Linked DNA regions of Homo sapiens: regions 1, 2 and 4 are each linked to region 3. The links are contacts of gene promoters, found by promoter capture Hi-C in human tissues and cell types (Jung and others, 2019). All regions are on one chromosome and are shown on one strand. Each heading gives the region's core, a stretch centred on a gene start or on the middle of the fragment in contact. The rest is flanking DNA. Distances are from core to core; before and after follow the strand shown.

Region 1 (4,729 bases), core at 472-2,971, 350 kb after region 3:
TTACTAAAAATACAAAAATTAGCCAGGCACAGTGGTGGGCGCCTATAATCCCAGCTACTCGGGAGGCTGAGGTGGGAGAATCATTTGAACCCATGAGGCGGGGATTGCAGTGAGCCAAGATCACGCCATTGCAAACTCCAGCCTGAGCAACAGAGAGAGACTCGGTCTCAAAAAAAAAAAAAAAAAAAAAAAAAGAAGATCCCAGCACAAATCACTCAGGCAATCATTGTTGAAACTTTTGAGTGTCTTCTAGATATCTCTTTATGTCCACACCTAGACACACAAACAGATATACTGATGTTACAAACGTGGCCACACTACAGGCTGCAGGCTGTTTTGTAACTTGCTATTTTTACTCAATAATATGTTATTAATTCTTTCTATGACAGTAAAGATATCTGTGATAAAGATAGATCTATGATACACAATCATTTTCAGTGGCTAAAGAGTATCCTAGTGATTGAATATATGAAACTGCCCATTTTGGCAGGTCATGGTGCCTCACGCCTGTAATCCCAGCACTTTGGGAGGCCAAGGCGGGCAGATCACTTGAGGCCAGGAGTTCAAGACCAGGCTGGCCAACATGGCGGAAACCCTGTCTCTACTAAAAATGCAAAAATTATCCAGTTGTGGTGGTGCATGCTTGTAATCCCAGCTACTTGGGAGGCTGAGGCAGGAGAATCACTTGAACCTGGAAGGCGGAGGTTGCAGTGAGCCGAGATCATGCCACTGCACTGCACTTCAGCCTGGGCAACAGAGTGAGACTCTCTCTCCAAAAAAAAGAAAAGAAAGAAAGAACTGCCCATTTTGTAGGCCATAGCTATAGAATACAGGCAGTTCCATATGGCTCAAGCTAAGAGGTACATTGTGATAATTTGCCAGTCAGTCTCTGGGATAGATATTTAACTGTAACTTTTGTTCAATTTTCCCAATTATAAACAATTTTTGGTAACCCTAATATGTCCTTACCATGTGCCAACCACTCTTCTAAGTCTATTTTGCTGACATATATTAACTTTTGCAATTCTTACTCCCCCCCACCAAAAAAATGAAAACAAAAACCAACTCTATAAGGAAGGTGCTAGTATTACCTCCACCTAATAGCCGAACAAACTGTGGTATGAATGAAGCGAGAAGCTTGTCCAAGGTCACATGGTAAACAGCAGCGCCAGCTCTGAACGCAGCCATCTGGCTCCACAGCCTCAGCTCTCTTAAATGCTATGGTAAATGGAATTATTTTTCCAATTTCCTTTTCAAATGTTCCTTGCTGGTGTAAAAAAAAATGCACACACACAATTAATTTTTGTGTGTTGATCTTGTTCCTTGCGACTTTACTGAATTGGTTAATTAGCTCTATCTAATAGTTTTCTTGTGAATTCTTCGGGATTCTCCATATATGGGATTGTGCCATCTGTGATTAAAGATAGTTTTACTTCATTCTTTGCCATCTGGATGCCTTTTATTGCTTTTCTTGTCTAATTGCTCTGGCTAGAACTTCCAGTACAATGTTGAACAGCAGCGGTGAAAGCGGGCATCCTCGTCCTGTTCCTGATCTCAGGAAGAATGCACTCAGGCTATGCTCCTAACAACTGTGCTCACTGTCTGTCCACCCCACATTCATGTTGCCAGAAATCCCTGCACAAGCTTCTTCACACACCTAAGGCATTAAGTCTATACAGGACTTCTGGGTCAAAGGGTGTGCACATTTTCTATCTGAGTTTATTTTCCTAAATCATAAATGCTTGAACCATTTCATGCTTCCATCACCAAAGCAAGAGTGTGTACACTGCCTCTTAAGAGGGGCTTGACAAACAAGCGGTGTGAACTTGGTTGAGACAGTTGAGGGTCTGGTCGCCAGGCTGAGAGCACATGGCCTGTAGGATGGAGGCTGTGAGTTTGAAGAAGAGGAGAGACATAGTAGCAGTGTGCAGCCATTTGAAGAGGGACACAAGGCAAAACTAAGCAAAGGTGAAAGTTACAGGGGGAAAGATTTTGGCTCATTTTCTCAGGAAGAAAAGTGACAGGGCAGTCCCAGAGCAGAACAAGCTTTCCTTGTGGTTACTGCTGGTGATGGTGAGGAAGATGATGAAGATAATTTTCATTTACCACATCAACTTCCCTTTCTCTCCTGTCCCCTTTCCATCTGCACTTAACATCATTTCTCTACTAAAAATACAAAATTAGCCAGGCATGGTGGCACATGCCTGTATTCCCAGCTACTCAGAAAGCTGAGGCAGGAGAATAGCTTGAACCCCAGAGGCGGAGGTTGCGGTGAGCCGAGATCACCCCATTACACTCCAGCCTGTGCAACAAGAGTGAAACTCTGTCTCCAAAATACCCCCTCTTCAATCCCACATTCTCTTACCACCACTCCATGCCTCTCTTCTTCATAGCCAAGTCCCCTGAAAGAGTGAGTCATCATATCCATTTCTGCATCTCCATTCACTCCTCCGCCCACTCCAGTCTGGCTCCCACCCCCATCCCTTCTCTAAAGCCTCTCTTGCCAAGTAAACAACAACGTCATTGTCACTAAATCCAATAGACACACCACATAGCTGATCTTCCTGGAACTCTCAGCACCAGTTGACACTGTGACCATGCCCCACCTCCCTCACCTCCTTCCCTTAGCTTGCAGGAATCCACCTTTGCCTGACTTTCATTGGATCTCTGTGGCTACTCCTTCTCAGAATCCTTTGGGGACTTCAGCACTCCCACCCCTTAAAGGTTAGCCCTTCTCCGGGGTCGGTTCTAGGCCCTCTTGCTTTCTCATCTACTTCTTCTCTTGCTGGTGAATTGCAGCTTCTTCCATGGTTCTAGTTCCCATCTATATGCTGGTGATATAGAAACCTACATCTCAGGCCAGGCGCAGTGGTTCATGCCTGAAATCCCAGCACTTTGGGAGGCTGAGGTGGGCGGATCACCTGAGGCCAGGAGTTCAAGACCAGCCTGCCCAACATGGTGAAACCCAATCTCTACTAAAAATACAAAATTAGCCAGGTGTGGTGGCGGGCACCTGTAATCCCAGCTACTCAGGAGGCTGAGACAGGAGAATCACTTGAGCCCGGGAGGCGGAGGATGCAGTGAGCTAAGATCGCACAACTGCCCTCATATCCCTTAGCTCATTGCAATAGAGGAAGAGTAATTCATGCAGAGCCAGCTCTGTGGGGGAGACCAGAGACTCTGACTCAAAAAAAAAAAAAAAAAAGAAACCTACATCTCAGCTCCAGATTCATATATCCAACCACCTATTCAACATCTACATGCATATGTTCCATGAACACTTCGAACTCAATGCCTTCAGTTCTGACCTCATCTTCCACCCCAAATTGGCTCTTTCTCCTGCATTTCCTATCCCAGCAAGTTATTCCAGCACCTATCAGTTGTCCAAGCCAGAAACATGGCACACTCCTTGACTCATTCTCTCCCTCTTTCCCCCTCACCCATTCAGTTGCCAAATCCTACTGTTTTACCTTTCTAATATTGCTCGAAGTCATCTACTTCTCTCCTCTGCCTCTACTACCTCCTCAGTCCAGGTCACCATCAGCTTTCCTATCTGGACAACCCAATGGTCTCCTAAATGGTCTCCTTTCCTCCAGTCTTACCCTGTCCCCTCCACTCTCTATACTGCACACTGCATACTTTTTTTTTTTTTTTTCTTGAAACGGAGTCTTACTCTGTCACCCAGGCTGGAGTGCAGCAGCAAGATCTTGGCTCACCGCAACCTCTGCTGCCTGTGTTCAAGTGATTCTCCTGCCTCAGCCTCCTGAGTAGCTGGGATTACAGGCATCTGCCCCCACGCTCAGCTAATTTTTGTAGTTTTTAGTAGAGATGGGGTTTCACCATCTTGGCCAGGCTGGCCTTGAACTCCTGACCTCGTGATCCACCCGCCTCAGCCTCCCAAAGTGCTGGGATTACAGGTGTGAGCCACCACTCCCAGCCTACACTGCATACTTTAATGAGAGCATGGACTATGGTGTGAGATGCTTAGGTTCAATCTCAGCTCTACCACTTACTGGCTACACGACCTTGGACAAGTGACTTAACCTTTCTGAGTCATTGTTTCTTCTGTAATAAGAGGATATTAGGGCCCAGCGTGGTGGCTCATGCCTGTAACCCCAGCACTTTGGGAGGCCGAGGTGGGTGGATCATTTGAAGTCAGGAGTTCGAGACCAGTTTGGCCAACGTGGTAAGACCCCCTCTCTACTAAAACTACAAAAATTAGCTGGGCGTGGTGGCGCACGCCTGTAATCCCAGCTACTTAGGAAGCTGAGATAGGAGAATCGTTTGAACCCAGGAAGCAGAGGTTGCAGTGAGCCAAGATCGTGCCACTCCACTCCAGCCTGAGTGATTGAGTGAGACTCCATCTCCCAAAAAAGAAGATATTAGTATTGTATTCGGCAGGGTTTCCAGTTTTAAACAACAGAATTTACTCTGCTGAATTTAAGAAGAAAGATTGTCCAGGAAAGACAAATCTATAGAGGCATAGAGTAGATTCATGGTTGCCTGGGTTGAGCAACCATGGGGAGAGAGTGGGAGTGGGGAGTGACTGTTAATGGGTATGAGGGCTCTTACTAGGCTGATGAAATGTTCTAAAACTGGATCACGGTAATGGTTGAACAACTTGGTAAATTTACTAAAAGTCATTGAAATGTGTATTTAAAATGGGTGATTTTATGATATGTAAGTTATACCTCAATAAAGTTGAGAAAAATATAGAAAAAAAGAGATT
Region 2 (5,178 bases), core at 293-2,792, 280 kb before region 3:
TAGCATCTCAGAAATGGTGTGCTGGAACTCTTAACTGTAGAGTTGTAGTTATCCATGAGCAGAGACTTTCGTACACATTGAAAGCTTTCAGGCACAACTCAAGGGACATGAATCGGGAAGATCCGAGTCCGTCTTGTGCGTCATTTTGGTCAGGGTTAATGAGGTTGCAGGGAAAGGTGTCTCAGCATGAAGATCTATTCCCCGACAGCAGGGCTTCCCCACTCCAGAGAGCTCTGCCTGTGATCCTGTTCATGGGCTTTCCCTGCTGACTCCTAACTCCCACTTGTACATGGTCGTCTGGGCCGCCTTGGCCTCTCTCCATCTGTAGACTCCTATTCTGGGCCTGTTCCAAGGATCAGTTACTTAGTCAGTCCAGATCTCCAAGGGGATTCTGCAAGGCTCAGCACATCCTGAGGGAGGCAGGGCATGGAGGTCAGAGGTGGGATCCGTCTGTCCCCTGTTCCATAAATTGAAACAGGGACAAGGGAGAGTGGGATCACCAGGCACCACCCACTGCTGTCCCCAGTGGCTGCCCTGGGAACTTTCCCTCACCAGGCCTGGGGTCGGGCAGGCAATGTGAGGTCAGTATTTGTAACTTCTCTCTGCTGGCTACTGTGATCTTCTTTTTATTTTTTTATTTTTTGAGACAGAGTCTTGCTCTGTCACCCAGGCTGCAGTGGCATGATCTCGGCTCACTGTAACCTCCGCTTCCTGGGTTCAAGCGATTCTCCTGCCTTAGCCTCTCGAGTAGCTGGGATTACAGGTGCACACTACCACAATGGGCTAATTTTTGTATTTTTAGTAGAGACAGGGTTTCACCGCGTTTGTCAGGCTGGTCTCAAACTCCTGACCTCAGGTGATTCACCTGCCTCGGCCTCCCAAAGTGCTGGGATTGCAGGCGTGAGCCACCGCGCCCAGCGTGATCTTCTTTTAAGCTTAGATCCACATTATTTGTCTGGCTGGGCGTGGTGGCTGGTGCCTGTAATCCCAGCTACTCGGGAGTCTGAGGCACGAGAATCATTTGAACCTGGGAGATGGGGGTTGCAGTGAGCCGAGATTGCACCACTGCACTCCAGCCTGGGCAACAAACTGAGACTCTGTTTCAAAACAAAAACAAAAAACAAACAAAAACACCCATATTCTTTGTCGTCACTCTTTAAAGCCTAGCAACATAACTTGAAGCAACTTCAGGTTACGTTGGTTTATTCATTTCCTAGGACTGCGTAACAGATGATCACAAAGTGGCTGATTTAAAACAAATCTATTCTCTCCTAGTTGTGGAGGCCAGAAATCCAAAAATCAAGAGTTGGCAGGGCCACATTCCTGCGGGAGCCTCTTTTAGCTCTGGTGGCTCCTGGCATTGCTTAGCTGTAGCCGTGTCCCTCCAATCTCTGCCTCCGTCCTCACGTGGGCTCCTCCCTGTGTCTTTCTGTGTGTATAGAGACACTCTCAATGGATTTAGGGCCCACCCTATTCCAGGATGAGCTCATTTCTATCCTTACCTCAATCACATCTGCAAACACTATTTCCAAATAAGATGGTATTCTGAGGTTCTGAGTGGAAATGAATTTTTGAAGGGGGCACCGTTCAACCCACTAGATGGTAAACTGACCAATTAATAACAAAAACATTTCTTTTCACTTCTAGAACCAAAATATTCATTCGTTTCCCCAGAACTCTGTTTGCTACCGAAGATGCCTTTGAATTTAGTAAACATCAACTAGGTATGATTTCTTTTTCTGTCCCGATTTCAATAGAATATGAAATGAACAAGTGGAGCTTGGGGGTAAATCTTAAACACGGGTGTTTGATATAGTGTTAGAAGCATTCGCTTTGGAAACTAGGAACGAGATATGGGATTATGATAAGATCCCTGTGAATTTCTGCTTTAATGACTGCTTGGAGGTCAGTCACAGATGCAGGCAGATATATAAACATTGTTCCGCCGTTTCAGTTCTCGTTTGGATCAGATTCTGTTGTTCACTACTAGGGTGTAAAACCGTGAGAGACCAGCCCCTTGAAATTAAAGTTTACAAAACTTCACTTGTCTGCGTGTCTGATGTTGGAAAGTTTAGCTTCAAAGCCTGCAGCCTGGGTGTTTGCTGGGAATGGTCAATGAGAAAAGTTAGATGGGGAAATGCAAAAAGTAAAAAATCAAAACTGCGGGGGGAGGGAGCGTCTCTTTTGAAATGTAACCGGTCTGTCAAGAACTACGCTTGAGTCATTTGAGGGCCTGCTGTGCGCCAGGTGAACACTAAGTCCTTTAAACCATGGTCTCATTCTGTTCTGAGAACAGACCTGTAAGGGAGGTGACATAGGTGCTATCGTCTCCGCTTTCTATGCAGGGAAACTGAGGCACGGAGGTGTTGGTAACTTGTTGAAGGCTACACAGCAAGTAAGCAGCCTAGCTGCGGTTTGAACCTGGGTCTGTCTGGCTTCAAGGCTTGGTGGTCTCATTTTCTGACCTCCGTAGCAGTGGGCACCAATGGCTGGGGATCTGGTTGAAGGGCCACAGTTAGGCCAGTGGGGCCTGAGCCAGCATCTCTAACCAGCTCGTGGGGAATAGGATGTGGCTGCTCTGCAAGGCTCTTGATGAGCTTGGCCTCTGATAGGACCTAAATTGCTGTGTGGAGGGGGTGGATGCAGGATGTAGAAGCCGAGGGAGAGTGTTCTCTGATCAGACCTGGATTCATGCTCCTCCTTAGCTGTGTTGCCCGGCAAGCGTCTTCACCATCTGTCTGAGCCTGCGTGCCCATTTATAAAACATGCTGATGATGCCTGCCTTGTGGGGTGGCGTATGAGAATGAAATCTAATGCCTGACATGGAACTGGGGGGCTTGTAGCACTAGGTCTGTTCCTTGCCCTGGGAAAAGGAAAGGCAGGAAGGAAACTCCAGTTCCCGGGCAGCATCTGGGAGCCAGGCGTCATGTAACCAGCCAGCTCTCAGGTCTGCAGTGCTGAAATAGCTTCCTGAAACATCACTACACCACAGGACTTTGATGCCCCCTTCCATCGGCCCCCAAACACCCCTGGAGATCACAACCACAAAGATGCGCAAATGCAAAGCCATTTCACCAAAACGTCTGTTTTATTTTAAGTTGCAAGAATCCAAGCCACTTACAAACGCTGCCTAGGAAGGAGAGAATACGTGAAAAAAAGACAAGCAGGTAAGAATTAAATAGAAACAAATAAGTTTGCTCCCTTTCTCATCTGCTTGGCACCTGGGGGCACATTTGTGAGTTCTCTCCCCCTGCTCATCCTTAAAACCTTGTGTGGTGCTATCTTGGGGTCCAGTTCTGGGGCCTCTTCTCATTTTTACCTTATTGATTGGAGATTATAACATAGTGGCCTGTATGTGTTCCACAGGCATGTTTTATTAGTCCTACAATATGTGTACATTTAAAGAATAATTTTGTGGGCCAGTCGCGGTGGCTCATACCTATAATCCTAGCACTTTGGGAGGCTGAGGCGCGTGGATTACTTGAGCTCAAGAGTTCAAGACCAGCCTTGGCAGCATGGTGAAACCCTGTCTCTACCAAAACAAAACAAAACAAAACACCCAAAAATTAGCTAGGCATGGTGGTTAATGCCTGTAGTCCCAGCTACTTGGAGGGCTGATGCAGGAGGACTGTTTGAGCCCAGGAGGTGGAGGTTGCAGTGAGCCACGATGGAACCACTGCACTCCAGCCTGGGTGACAAAGTGAGACCCTGTCTCAAAAAAAATAAAAGAATAATTTTTGAAAAAGTTTCAAACATACAAGTACCCTTGAAGCCCTTCCATTTTTTTGTCCCTCCCCAGTCATGTTCTCAAACAACACTCCCACCCACACGCATACATTTCTTGAGAGTAACCACTCTCTTGAATTTTGCATTAATCATTCTCTTGTTTTTCTTCAATAGTTTCACTATCTATGGGTGTATCTCTAAATAATATATTTATAATTTAGCATGTTTTAAACTTAACTATACTCTTGGTATTTTGGGTGACATTTTTGCACTCCAAATTGATTTTGAAATTCAACCAGGAGATGTGCATAGATTTAGTTATTCATTTGCTGATAGCTACATAGTATTCCACTATAGCAGCAGAGGTCAGCATTATAGGAAGTATTTTAGACTTGGGAGTCTTATGGTCTCCATCGCAGTAACTCAAGTCTGCCATGGTAGCAGGAAAGTAGCTTTAGATAATATGTAAATGAATGGACAGGGCTGTGTAGAGATAAAACTTTACATAAACAAGTGGCAGGCTGTAGTGGGCCAGCCCCTGAGCTATGAGTATGCCACAACTTAGCTGTTCTGTTGATGGACGTTTGGGTTGATTCAAGTTGCTTGTCTTTGTAATAGAAACAATGCTGTTCTGAGGATTCGAAGAAAAGCGTTTAAAAAATCTGAAGAGCATTTAAAAATTGGGAAACAGGCCAGGCATGGTGGCTCACACCTGTAATTTCAGCACTTTGGGAGGCTGACGTGGGCAGATAACCTGAGGTCAGGAGTTCGAGATCAGCCTGCCCAACATGGCGAAACCCCGTCTCTACTAAAAATACAAAAAAAAATTAGGCGTGGTGGTGCACACCTGTAATCCCAGCTACTGGGGAGGCTGAGGTGGGAGAATTGCTTGAACCCAGGCAGCAGAGGTTGCAGTGAACCAAGATCACACCATTGCACTCCAGCTTGGGCGACAGAGCAAGGCTCTGTCTAAAAAAAAAAAAAAAAAAAAATTGGGAAATAAGCCAGAACCTAAGTTTTATATGCCCTAGTTTGCTTGTGTACCCCAATTTTTAAATGTAGACAACTAAAAGTAAACCCCAGTGAGACTAAACATGGTGGTAAGACTAATCTGTACCATCACAAGTGCCATTGCTGTGGCTGAAAAAGACCCTGGGAAAATGACTCCCTCATGTAATTTCAGGGCTTCCCTAGAAACCTTCCATAGCCCCCTCTGTTCTGTCTCCCCCTGGTTCAGTTGTTGCCTGAGTACTCCCAGGTAAGAACTGATGACATTCATCCGACCTTCCATCTCTGAGGCTAACAGAGTGCTGCGGTGGGCGTCCAGATGTTTGTTGAATGGACAAAGCCTTCTGGAAAAGCCTTCTGTATTTCCATACGATTGTGCTCACCTTCTAATGCCAGCAGTGAACTCTTTCAGCCATCAAACTGGAAGCCCACTGGCGTGGGGCC
Region 3 (4,954 bases), core at 531-3,030:
CCTGTCCTCAGCTGAAGTCTGGTCTCCCCACCTGTCCACACGCTGGGTCCACCCATCCAGTCGCCCCGGCCGCCCTCCCTGACGTCCCCGCAGCCCTGGCTGCTGGCCCGAGCGGGAAGCAGCTGGAGGCATAACACATTTCCAGGTAAATCCCCACCCCCACCTTCAGCCTGGGGAGGGAAGGGGAGGAGATGGGGGCGGCCGCGGAGAAATAGAGCGGAGCTGCTGGGAACAGCGCGCCGAGCAGCCGCTTAGAGGCCTGAAACAGGGCCAGCTCCTGTCCTAGATAAGGCGGCGGGTGACCCACTTGGGCCGGCCCTGGAGGTCCGCCGCGGGCGCCTCTCCCGGCGGGGTGGGTTGGCTCCTGGAAGTAGGCTAGGGCCCGTCTATAATCAGCCCGTCCGCTGGATACGCTCCCCAGGGTCTCCAAAGCCCTCCAGCCCGGGTGAGTACAGAGGGCATTTATTGAGCACTTAATGTGTGTTTTGAGTCCTTTACATGCAAGAATTCATTTTGCCCTCAAATCTACGCTGTAAGGTAGGAATTATGATGCCCCCCATTTCACAGACAAGAAACTGAGGCGCAGACCCGTGAAGGTAAATGGCCAAGACCAACAACCAGCAAGGGCAGGGCTGCAATCCCACCCAGTTTCGGTGGGACTCCAGGTATCACACGGGCATAGCCTGAGGGGTGGGGGGTCTGACTGCTGCTCTGCATTTCTGTGGGGATCTTTGTTATTATCCCGGAAAGCTGGCTTCCTACAGTGCTGTGTGATGGACACACAGCAACTGAGGGAACTGCCCCACCCAGGACTCAATTTCCCCATCTGTAAATGAGACTGCTAGACGGGCCGCCCATGGGCTGTGAGAACCCAGGAAGCTTCTTTAAAAGTAAAAGGGAAAGCACAGTATAGTTTGATAGATTCATATTTGAACCCCAGGTTGATGTGAAACTATGCCTCAGTTTCCCTATCTATTAAGTGGGGGAGTAGGCTAGTGCCTGTCTCCTGTGGGCGTGGGGTACGTCTAGAAGGTGTAGCTTGCAAATTGCTCAGCGCTGTGCTGGGTTATATAGTTAGCGCTCCACAGATCACAACTGTGATGCCAAAAACACATCGCTGCCAAAAATAAGCCTTAGGACAAAAACATCCAGGACCATGTCACTTCACATCTCCTTACCTCAGTTTCCTCTGTAAGTTGGAAGTATAATAATAGTACCTACCGTATCAGTTTTCTCATCTGTAAAATGGGGGTGATAGTAATACCCACTCACACGGTGTTGTGAGGATTAGATAAAATACTTTGCTACATAAGTGTTAGCTATAGTTGTTATTTTTAACAAATTCCTCATGAGGTTGGTTTTTGCCAAGATTAAATGAAATAATGCCGATAATGCACTTATACAGTGCCTTGTCCCAAATATGTGATCAGTAAATGACACTGGTTTTGCCACCCCTAGTGGGACTACAAAAACCAGCACGCCCTGCGCCCCCAGTCGGGGCCCCTCCACCCGGCGCCGGCGCGCAGCATGCCGGGAGTTGCAGTCCTCGCGAGGCAAGTTCCGCCTCGTCCCTGCTTGGGGGAGGAGGTTGGAGAGCCGCCCTGCCGGCCTTTGAATTTTGCCGCGAAAAGCGCGCGTGGCGGCCCCCGGCTCCGCCCCTCGCAGGACGCGGTGCCGCGTCACCCTGGTAACCGCCTCTCAGCCGCCGCTGATTGGGCTGGGCCGCGGGGGGCGGGCGGGGGACGAGACGCGGGGGCTGCTGCCGGCGCTCGCGCCTGTCAGTCGGGCCAGAGCGGAGCAGCGGGCAGGACTGCCTGGCCGGCTGCTCCGCGGAGAGGCTGCGCGCGCCGGCCGGGGGAGGCGGACAGCCGGGCCCGGCGCCTGTGGGGCGCGGCGCGCGGCACCCGGGCCTGAGACCAGGCGAGGCGCCGGCGCGCGCCAGACGGCGCGAGGCTGCGGCCCCGGGAGCCCCCGCGCGCCGCCCGGGGCCATGGGCGCGTGAGAGCCCAGCGCGCGCGGCCCCTGCTGCGGCTTGCGAGCTCGCACACCCGGTGCACAGTCCCCCGGGCCGTCCTCGTGTCCGTCCTGCGCCACTGGGATCGGCTGTTTCTCAGCGCCGAGGCCCCCGAGGCTGCATCCGAGCTTGCGTCGCCCGCTGCCGCCGCCGCCGCCGCTGCCGCCGCCGCTGTTCGCCGGCTTCCCCTCCCCCCACACCCGGGGCTCAGAGCAGGAGGAGGAGGGGCCGGTGCATTCTCGCCGCTGTTCTTTGCAACCTGCAGGGGCCGGTGTATGTCCGGCGAGGAGCCGGGGCCGCTGCGGGTGCGTGCAACCCCCGAAGGAGACAATCCCTCCACCTCGGGGCGAACCCGGGGGCTGCAAGCCGCGGGCGGGCGGGCGAGCGAGAGGAAGCAACAAAGACAGGCTGCAGCTGGGGCTGGCGAAAGGGGCCGCGGCCGCCGGGCTCCCAGCGCGGGCGGAGAGGGCGCCCTGGGAGCGGCGCGGGCCGAGCTGCAGCCTTGAGCGGGGCCCCGAGGGGAGGCGCAGCGCCGCCCGCCGGACGTGGCGATCACGGGCCCCGGCGAAGATGCGTCGCCTGAGCGCCCGCGCGGCCCCCGTCCGGGGCGGGCGTGACCCCTGCTGAACGGAGACCTCCCCTCCCCCCCGACTTCGGACGGCGCAGGCCGGCGCCAGGATAGCCCTCACCGACAGCGCCCCTTCCCACCCGGAGAGAGGCATCGACCCCCAAGGAGGGCTTCGTCAGGCAGCCTCTGCCACTCCTGCATGGCTGCGACCCGTCGAGCGGAGCGTCGTGGTAGCTGAGACCTGGTGCCCTTCGACGGCCTGGCTGATCCGGTGAGTTGTGCGGGGCGGGGTTCTGCGCTGGAGCTGGGGGCACCCCCTGGCGTCCGGGCAGCCAGGATTGGACAGAAGGGGTCCTAGGCTGTTGGGGGTCCTGAAGCAGAGATAACCCTTGTCCGCCCCTTTCCTCCCTCCAAACACAACTTGTTCAGATGGGCCAGCCGATGGGAGTGGAGGTTGGGGGGCCCATTCGGATTCCGCGGGACCCTGGGCGGGTTGGTTGCCAGAGAGGAAAGGTCACCCCACCCGTAAAGCTAACAAAGGTATTGGCTGTGTCATCCGAAAATTCCCCGGGAACTCCAGTGTCTTGGAAGGGCTGGGGGGTGGGGGGCACCCAGGATGGGAAAACGTTGAGGGTCTCCCGAGCAGCCTCTGAGATCTTCAAGGGAAATCACCTCAGAGGGGGATTTGGGGTTCCAGAAACGCAGGTGGCCACGTTTGAGAATTGTGCCCCATGGGGCTAGACCTTAGAGCCCTCGTTCAAACCACGTTCCCACAAATAACTCGCAGGGACGGTAGGTTCCCCAGTGGGGGCACGACATGACGTCAAACCTTAGCCTCTGATGTCACTGGGGTTGCCGTGGCAACACCACTTGCCTTGACCCAAGGCCGGAGGGGGCGGGGTCGTGGTAACAAGGGGCGGGGCTGGATGCCTTTGGGTAGTGGAGGGGTGAAGGCGGACTCCCCCCACCCCTACCATTGCAGTCCTCTGACCTAAATCCTTAGCGCCCCATAAGGTGGGGGAGGGAGGCAGTGCCAGCTGTCCCTGTTGATGCTCCTCCCCGCAAGGACAGGTGTTCAGAGCTTTGCCCATGTAGCCTGGCCTGTGCCTCGGGGCTCAGGCCTCCCAGACAGAGCAACTTTCTGTTTTGAAAAGAGATGCTATAGAAGAGACCTCCCTGAACCCCACCATGTACCCAGCTGGCAGGCTGAAGTTCCCAGGGTCCCCAGAGAGATGTGGGCCTCCGGCCCTCCAATAGGCTACTTCTGCTGGGGAAAATGTGGGTGCCCCTCCCCCAGCCAAGGAAGGTGCAGAGGAGCTGCTGCCTGCTGCACCCCTAGTCCAGGGGCTCCCCATGCTGTTCTACCCCAAGGTCAGGGGCCTTGGCCAACCTGGAACTCCTGATTGCCCCCTGCTCCTTCTGGTGTTTAAGAGGATTTCAACGAGCATATTGTGAGGCTGCTTAAGTGAATGGCGGGCAAGTGAGGCCCATCAGTGCCAAGGTCTGAATAAACTGTGTCTCTGTCAGGGCACCCCCAACCAACACACACCCCAGTACTGGCACGCTTCCCTGCAAAGGCCCAGAGAACCCCCAGCAAGCATCCTGCTGCTGGCTCTGGGATTCGTCTAGGTCCCTTCCAGCAATTATTGCCAGTGTCGGGTGCTGGTGAAACTGCTGTGATCACATTTCTAGGAAAAGGTTCGAAAACTGTCATTGCCTCAGCAGCGTGGGGCGGGGTAAGAGCAGAGAAAGTGTGTGTTCGGGTCATTAGGAGAAGCCAGGCCCCAGTCTATGCAGCGAGCATTTTCCCTGCTCTTCTACCAAGCTCTCTAGCTAGATTAACAGGTCAATAAATATCGGTGGAGCTGCTTTTGGGGGCTTGGCAGGGAGATGGTATTTCCAGCTGAAATGGTGTCGTTAAACACACAAGCTTCCAAGGACAGAGGAGCAACAGCAGATTGGGGGAGAGCCGGGAGAGGTGGGCAGAAGGGCTGTTTGCGCTGCCTCTCGAAGCTTCCCAGTTTAGAAACAAACTCGGAGTGCGCGCCAGAGATTCACAAACACAGGCAGTTGGAGGCCCTCTGCCGAGTATTTACACTTCCACAGCCAAGGCAGAGGGAAAGGCTGTCAGAATTGGGCAATTCCTTCTGTTCCCTTCCCTCATCTCCCTGGGCTTGGCACTCAGCGTGCCAGACGATGAGCAGGAGGGAGTGCCAGCTTTCTCAGCATCTCCCTATATGCCAGGCGTTTTACATGATCTCAGTTACTCCTTGGAGTGGCTCATACGCTGTGGCCCATTTTATAGCTAATGAAACTGAGGCTTAAACAGAGGAAGTGATGGGCTACAGGTGATCAGCCAGGCAGCTGCAGAG
Region 4 (5,389 bases), core at 464-2,963, 260 kb before region 3:
GGCTGAGGCAGCAGAATCGCTTGAACCCAGGAGGCACAAGTTGTGGTAAGTGGAGATGGTGCCACTACACTCCAGCCTGGCCAATAGAGCAAGACTCCGCCTCAAAAAAAAATTTATACAATGGCTTTTCCATTTTCCTGGCCAACATTCACTTCGACTTTCTAAAAAAGCTCAACCCAAAAGAAAGACAGGGTTGGTGTTTAACACTTAAACAGTATAAAATATTTACGAAACATTTTGTAAGCCCTCTTTCCTTAGCACTTAATAAAATCCAAATGGCCTAATATAAAAGTTTCTCACACGACAGTTTAAAAAGCATCTGCCCAATACACGATTTTGACATTCAGTCATGATTGTTTTAAAGTTTTATTGTAGACTTTGCTGTTGGATACAAAATGAAGGCATACAACTGTCACAGGCAGGGCAGTAAGTACAAAGTCTAAGCTGTAAAAACCGTTTGAAAATATAAACTCGTTTTTGGAATACATGTGTCAAAGGCTGCCCATGTTAATACCTTTGGTATAAAACGGTAACGATTCCCTTGACAAACCCATCCATCACCTGACGCACATTCACATCTCCTGGTAACTACTCTACCTAGTCTAGTCTCAACCACCCCTGTCAGTCACGACTCACTCCTGTTCCTTTGCAGGTGCAGAGGAGCCTGGGAGGTAGGTCACTGAGAACACCCGTCCTACATAGGCGCTGCGCCCAGCCGGGCTCCAGCAGGGGCCGCCACCTGTGCCCCACAAGCACACGTCCCCACCCACAGTCACACATATCCCTTAAACAAACATGAACACAGACACAAACCAGACCCAAAGTTATCTATCTACCCGCACATCCTCAACCTGTTCACTGCTGGCCACTCTACACTGTGTAAAAATCAGAGGCAAAGACAAGGGGGTCTGTGTTTATAGCAGGGAAGCTCCCTGGGGCTGGTGGTGTGAGGGTGTCCCTGCCTGGATGCCAGGCTGGGAGGACAAAGGGTATGGGCCACACTGAATTTCTAAGCAAAATGACTTAGAAAGTTAGCCCAGCTTCATGGGGAAGGAGGCTGAAGAGGAGCGGGATCCCAGGGAGGGGTAGTTTATGAGCTATGCCTGTCACAGGGTCAGATGGCCTTCCTGGAGTGGAGTCGGGTCAATCAGGAGAACAACTGGACGGGGCTGGAGTTGGGGAAAGAACCAGAAACAGAGCTGGACACTTACTGCCATGGAAAGTTCTGCTCCTACGCAGACATATGGGGTCCCAGTGAGCACCAGGCCAAAGACCAGCCCAAGGTGGCAAAAGGCTTGATCCCTAAACAAAGCCTTGCACCCAAAGTTGCACTGGTCTCAACGATTTAGACGCTCATTCAGCCATATTTCCACTGCCACAAGCTGCAATTATCAACAAGCTCTAGGCCCAAAGCCACATGGCAGAAAGCACGTCTAGCAAAGCAGTGGGGATTGTGCCCGGGCCAAACACACAGGAACCAGGAGTGGACCTGCTGGGGCTGGAGGATTATGAAATAGGAAGCAGGGAGCTCAGATACCTCTGGTGGCCTCCAACTGCAGGACAACTCTCAGAATTGTCAAACTGAACCCTTAAGGGAGTGTCACCCAAAAAGCCCACATAGGAAGTCGACACCCACAAAAATAAATATTGCAAACAAAAGTTCTCACATACACTTCACACTCATTCATACTTTTCCTCTGAGAACCGAGAAAGCCTGGCTCCAAAGAGTCTCAGATTCTCATGAAAAGTAGAGATCTTAGACACAGCTTGTTCAACGACAGGGGTCATACGCCTGGGTCAAGACAATCAATTTGCCTTGTCAAGCAATACCAAAATAATCATCTGGCTTGTTACAAAAGTATCTCCAGGCTCCAAGGGAAGCAGAAGGGGCCCGGCAGCCTGCACAGGATCTGGGTGTAGCACGGCAGGGAGTGGGGGCGGTGAGAGGAGGGCGGCTCGGTCTCTTGCCTGCTCACTGGTGGAGGTGGGCCCGGTCATCAGGGCGCTTGATGTGGATCCTCCGCACGCGCTCGATCCGCTCCCGCTCCTCGTCCTCGTCCAGGTGGTGGGAGCGCCCCGCCGCCCCGCCTGTGGCCTCCAGGAGCGCATTGTCAGGTCCCCGGCCATCCTGGGCCTCATACAGCAAAATGTTCAGGGTCTCCTCATAAATCCGGGCTTCGGGAAACTCCACCTGTGTTCCCACAGTATACAGGGCAGGTAAGTTATGGCCCACCCCCTCTGCCAACACCTGGACTTTAAGCAGGGCCGCCAGGCTAAATCAGGCCCCTGGGATTCTGCTGAAGGCCACCAGTATTATTTTTAAATAAACTGATATTTTCAATGGCAACACTTACATGTGGTGCTAAATGCACAGAAAATCAAGGGGATGCAGAGAAACAGGTCTCCCTGCCCCTAGTTTCCCTTCTTAAAGGTACAGTTTCTCATCATTTTACCCTCTCAAAGATTCTGTGCATGTAAATATGTGTAATACACATATTTATTCACACACTTCAAAAAACACACAAGGTGGCCCACCACACAGAGTTGTACATGTCTTCCTCTTGTGCCTAACTTAACCTAGAGATCATTCTGTATCAAGGAATTATAAATACGACAATGCAATTAACCATACTTGGATGGCCATTTAGGTCAGTGCTAATATGCTTCTCCTAACAGAGCTGCAACCTTGCACAGAAGTCCTTCCACACCTTAAAGCAGTCTCTAAAGCAGTTTTTTGTACAGGGTCCAGCTGGGGACTCCCACGAAATGGGCATGAGCCCTTCTGCTGTTTGGCAAATCATTGTGTTTGCTCATTGCCCTTCAGGGTTAAGGTGTGATGAACAGGAAGAGGGCCACATAAGCAGGTCCCACACATTTGATCAGACTAGACTCCACTTTCAGGGTGGAATTCGGAGGTTCTGGGAAAAATGGAGCAGGCACACTCTACCCCGTCTTCCTCACTGACACTACAAAGCCAGAATGGGATGCACACAGCAGCTAACTGTGGACTCAGAAGTAAATCATGGCAGGCAGATGGGGGAAACAACAGAATTTGGAGTAATGCCCAACAGTGAGTTTACTGTTTGCTGCTGCCAGCACTGATGCAGCCTGAAACCCTGAAATGGCACCAGGACAGAAGACCTCCAGAAGGTCTCTAGTGGCCAGGGAGGCCAACAGAGTCTAACAGGCAGAGAGGCTGGGAGGAAATCCTGGTTTTCTTTCCTTTTTTTTTAAAAGATATGGGATCTGGCTAATTAAGCTTTAAAATTTTAAGACTTCTCATTTTTAGAGCTTAATAAGGAGCAAGGGGATTTAGAGACCACATGGTCTGATCCCAACTGTTTCTTGATTCACAGACCAGGTTCAGGAGTGGCGTGTTCTTGTGTTTGTGAAGCTGGTTAGGGGCAGAGCCAGGACGGGAGTCCAAGGGCCTCTTTCTTTTCTCTTTTTTGTTTTGAGAGGGAGTGTTGCTCTGTCACCCAGGCTGGAGTGCAGTGGCACAATCATAGCTCACTGCAGCCTTGAACGCCTAGGCTCAAATGATTCTCCCACCTCAGCCTCCCCAAGTAGTTGAGACTATAGGCATGCATCACCATGCCCAACTAACTTTTTGTAGAGATGAGTGTGTTGCTATGTTGCCCAGGCTGGTCTTGAACTACTGGGCTTAAATGATTCTCCCACCTCAGCCTCCCAAGTAGTTTAGACTACAGGCACACACCACCATGCCCAGCTATTTTTTAAAAAATTTTTGGTAGAGACAGGGGTGTTGCTATGTTGCCCAGGCTGGTCTTAAACTCCTGGACTCAAGCAATCCTTCTGCTTTGGCCTCCCAAAGTGCGGGATTACAGGTGTGAGCCACCATGCTCAGTCCTTTTCTTTATTTTCTTGCACCCAGACCTGAGCATTCCTGTGGCAGCAACCAGAGACTGCAGGAGTCAAAACTCTGAGGGAAGGAACCTTCTTTTCTGATGAGAAGAGCTGTGGTCTCAGCAGGATTGGGAGAATCTGGTTGCTTTTTCTATCTTCATGCTCCTGGGCCCAAAATACAGGCATGGTTACAGAAAGTGGGTGGCAAAGGGGGAATAACCAAACCCCCAGCTTTCTGGCTGGCCGATCAGAGAAGGGGACTCCAGGGAAGCTTAGAGAACTGCGGAGAAGAGGAGCTTGAGAAAGCAGCCTGTGAAGTTGTATATGAACTCCTAGACCCACACCCAGCTGCAAGATCTACCCCTAAACTGCATACGCAGACTGAAAGAACTGAATGCTGCAAGAGATACTGCCCAGGACAGACGGGCCACAGCATGGCACACAGCTAGGACAGATTTGAAGGCTTTGAAAATCAAACTGTCACCGCAACTACAAACTACAGAAGGCTGGTTAGAGCTTGCAGCCTGAGCCCAACTGGGTCAATTGCCTGCTAAAACAAAAACATCAATGTTCTCCCTAGGATTTAAACAAGGCCTGGAGTCCTTTAACAATATTCAAAATGTTTAGGATACAATCAAAATTTCTCAATACACAAGAACCAAGAAATTCTCAACTCCTGTGGGAAATAACTCACAGATGCTAGCGCCAAGGTGACACAAGGTTTTGGAATTACCTGACAAAGACCTGGCAGCAGCTATTATTAACCTGTTCCAGTAAGTAAGGGCCAATGCTCTTAGAGCAAATGGAAACATAGGGAGTCTCAGCAAGGAGACAGAAAAACCAAATGAGCACTTGAGAACTGACAAATACAATAACCAACAACCTCAAACAAAAACACAACTTACCAGCAGGGCTCAATAACAGAGTGGAGATGAGACAGGAGAGGAGAGTGATATGGGCTGGGTGCAGTGGCTCATGCCTGTAATCCCAACACTTTGGGAGGCCAAGGTAGAAGGACCACTTGAGGCCAGGAGGTCGAGACCAGCCTGGGCAACATAGTGAAAGCCAGTCCCTACAAAAATAAATAAAATGAGCCAGGTGTAGTAGCATGCACCTGTGGACCCAGCTACTCAGGAGGCTGAGGCAGGAGGATCACTTGAGCCCAGGAGTTCAAGGCTGCATTGAGCTATGATTGTGTCACTGTACTCAAGCCTGGGTGACAGAGCAACACTCTCTCTCAAAACAAAGAGAAAAGAAAGAGGCCCTTGGCTTCCCATCCTGGCTCTGCCACTAACTAGCTTTACAAACACAAGAACATGCCACTCCTGAACCTGTCTGCTAATCTAGAAACAGTTGGGATCAGACCATGTGGTCTCTAAATCCCCTTGTTCCTTATTAAGCTCTAAAAATGAGAAGTCTTAATCTTTTAAAGCTTAATCAATATGGTGACTCTCCTCTTACTACCCAAGGGCAGAGGCAGCCCAGGTATATTTTTAAAAAATCAAACCATGACAGAATGGGG

What was found. Contacts are between HindIII fragments. The study calls those that stand out against the background at their distance.
Region 1: a contact is called between a fragment that was not itself captured here and the fragment with the promoter of FAM222A in region 3, in 1 of the 25 tissues and cell types used here (hippocampus).
Region 2: a fragment that was not itself captured here is called in contact with the fragment with the promoter of FAM222A in region 3 in 1 of the 25 tissues and cell types used here (IMR-90 fibroblasts).
Region 4: a contact is called between a fragment that was not itself captured here and the fragment with the promoter of FAM222A in region 3, in 1 of the 25 tissues and cell types used here (thymus).

Annotation. Positions count from the first base shown.
Region 1 is chr12:110,057,897-110,062,625 of GRCh38, forward strand. It overlaps a transcript of C12orf76 not described here. Among named protein-coding and RNA genes, the nearest start is that of C12orf76, 12 kb to the left of the region's middle. The HindIII fragment of the contact is 4,989 bases long and covers 1-4,216 here.
Region 2 is chr12:109,433,390-109,438,567 of GRCh38, forward strand. It overlaps MYO1H (myosin IH), which reads left to right. Exons shown (of 32, transcript NM_001101421.4): 21 at 1,648-1,724; 22 at 3,099-3,167; 23 at 5,147-5,178. Among named protein-coding and RNA genes, the nearest start is that of KCTD10, 41 kb to the right of the region's middle. RefSeq lists an enhancer at 376-880. The HindIII fragment of the contact is 4,306 bases long and covers 1-3,695 here.
Region 3 is chr12:109,712,045-109,716,998 of GRCh38, forward strand. It overlaps FAM222A (family with sequence similarity 222 member A), which reads left to right and starts at 1,781. Exons shown (of 3, transcript NM_032829.3): 1 at 1,781-2,853. RefSeq lists an enhancer at 243-806 and silencers at 1,512-1,841, 1,872-1,921. The HindIII fragment of the contact is 9,746 bases long and covers 1-4,954 here.
Region 4 is chr12:109,449,623-109,455,011 of GRCh38, forward strand. It overlaps KCTD10 (potassium channel tetramerization domain containing 10), which reads right to left. Exons shown (of 7, transcript NM_031954.5): 7 at 1-2,191. The coding sequence ends at 1,973. Among named protein-coding and RNA genes, the nearest start is that of KCTD10, 25 kb to the right of the region's middle. The HindIII fragment of the contact is 3,969 bases long and covers 1-3,698 here.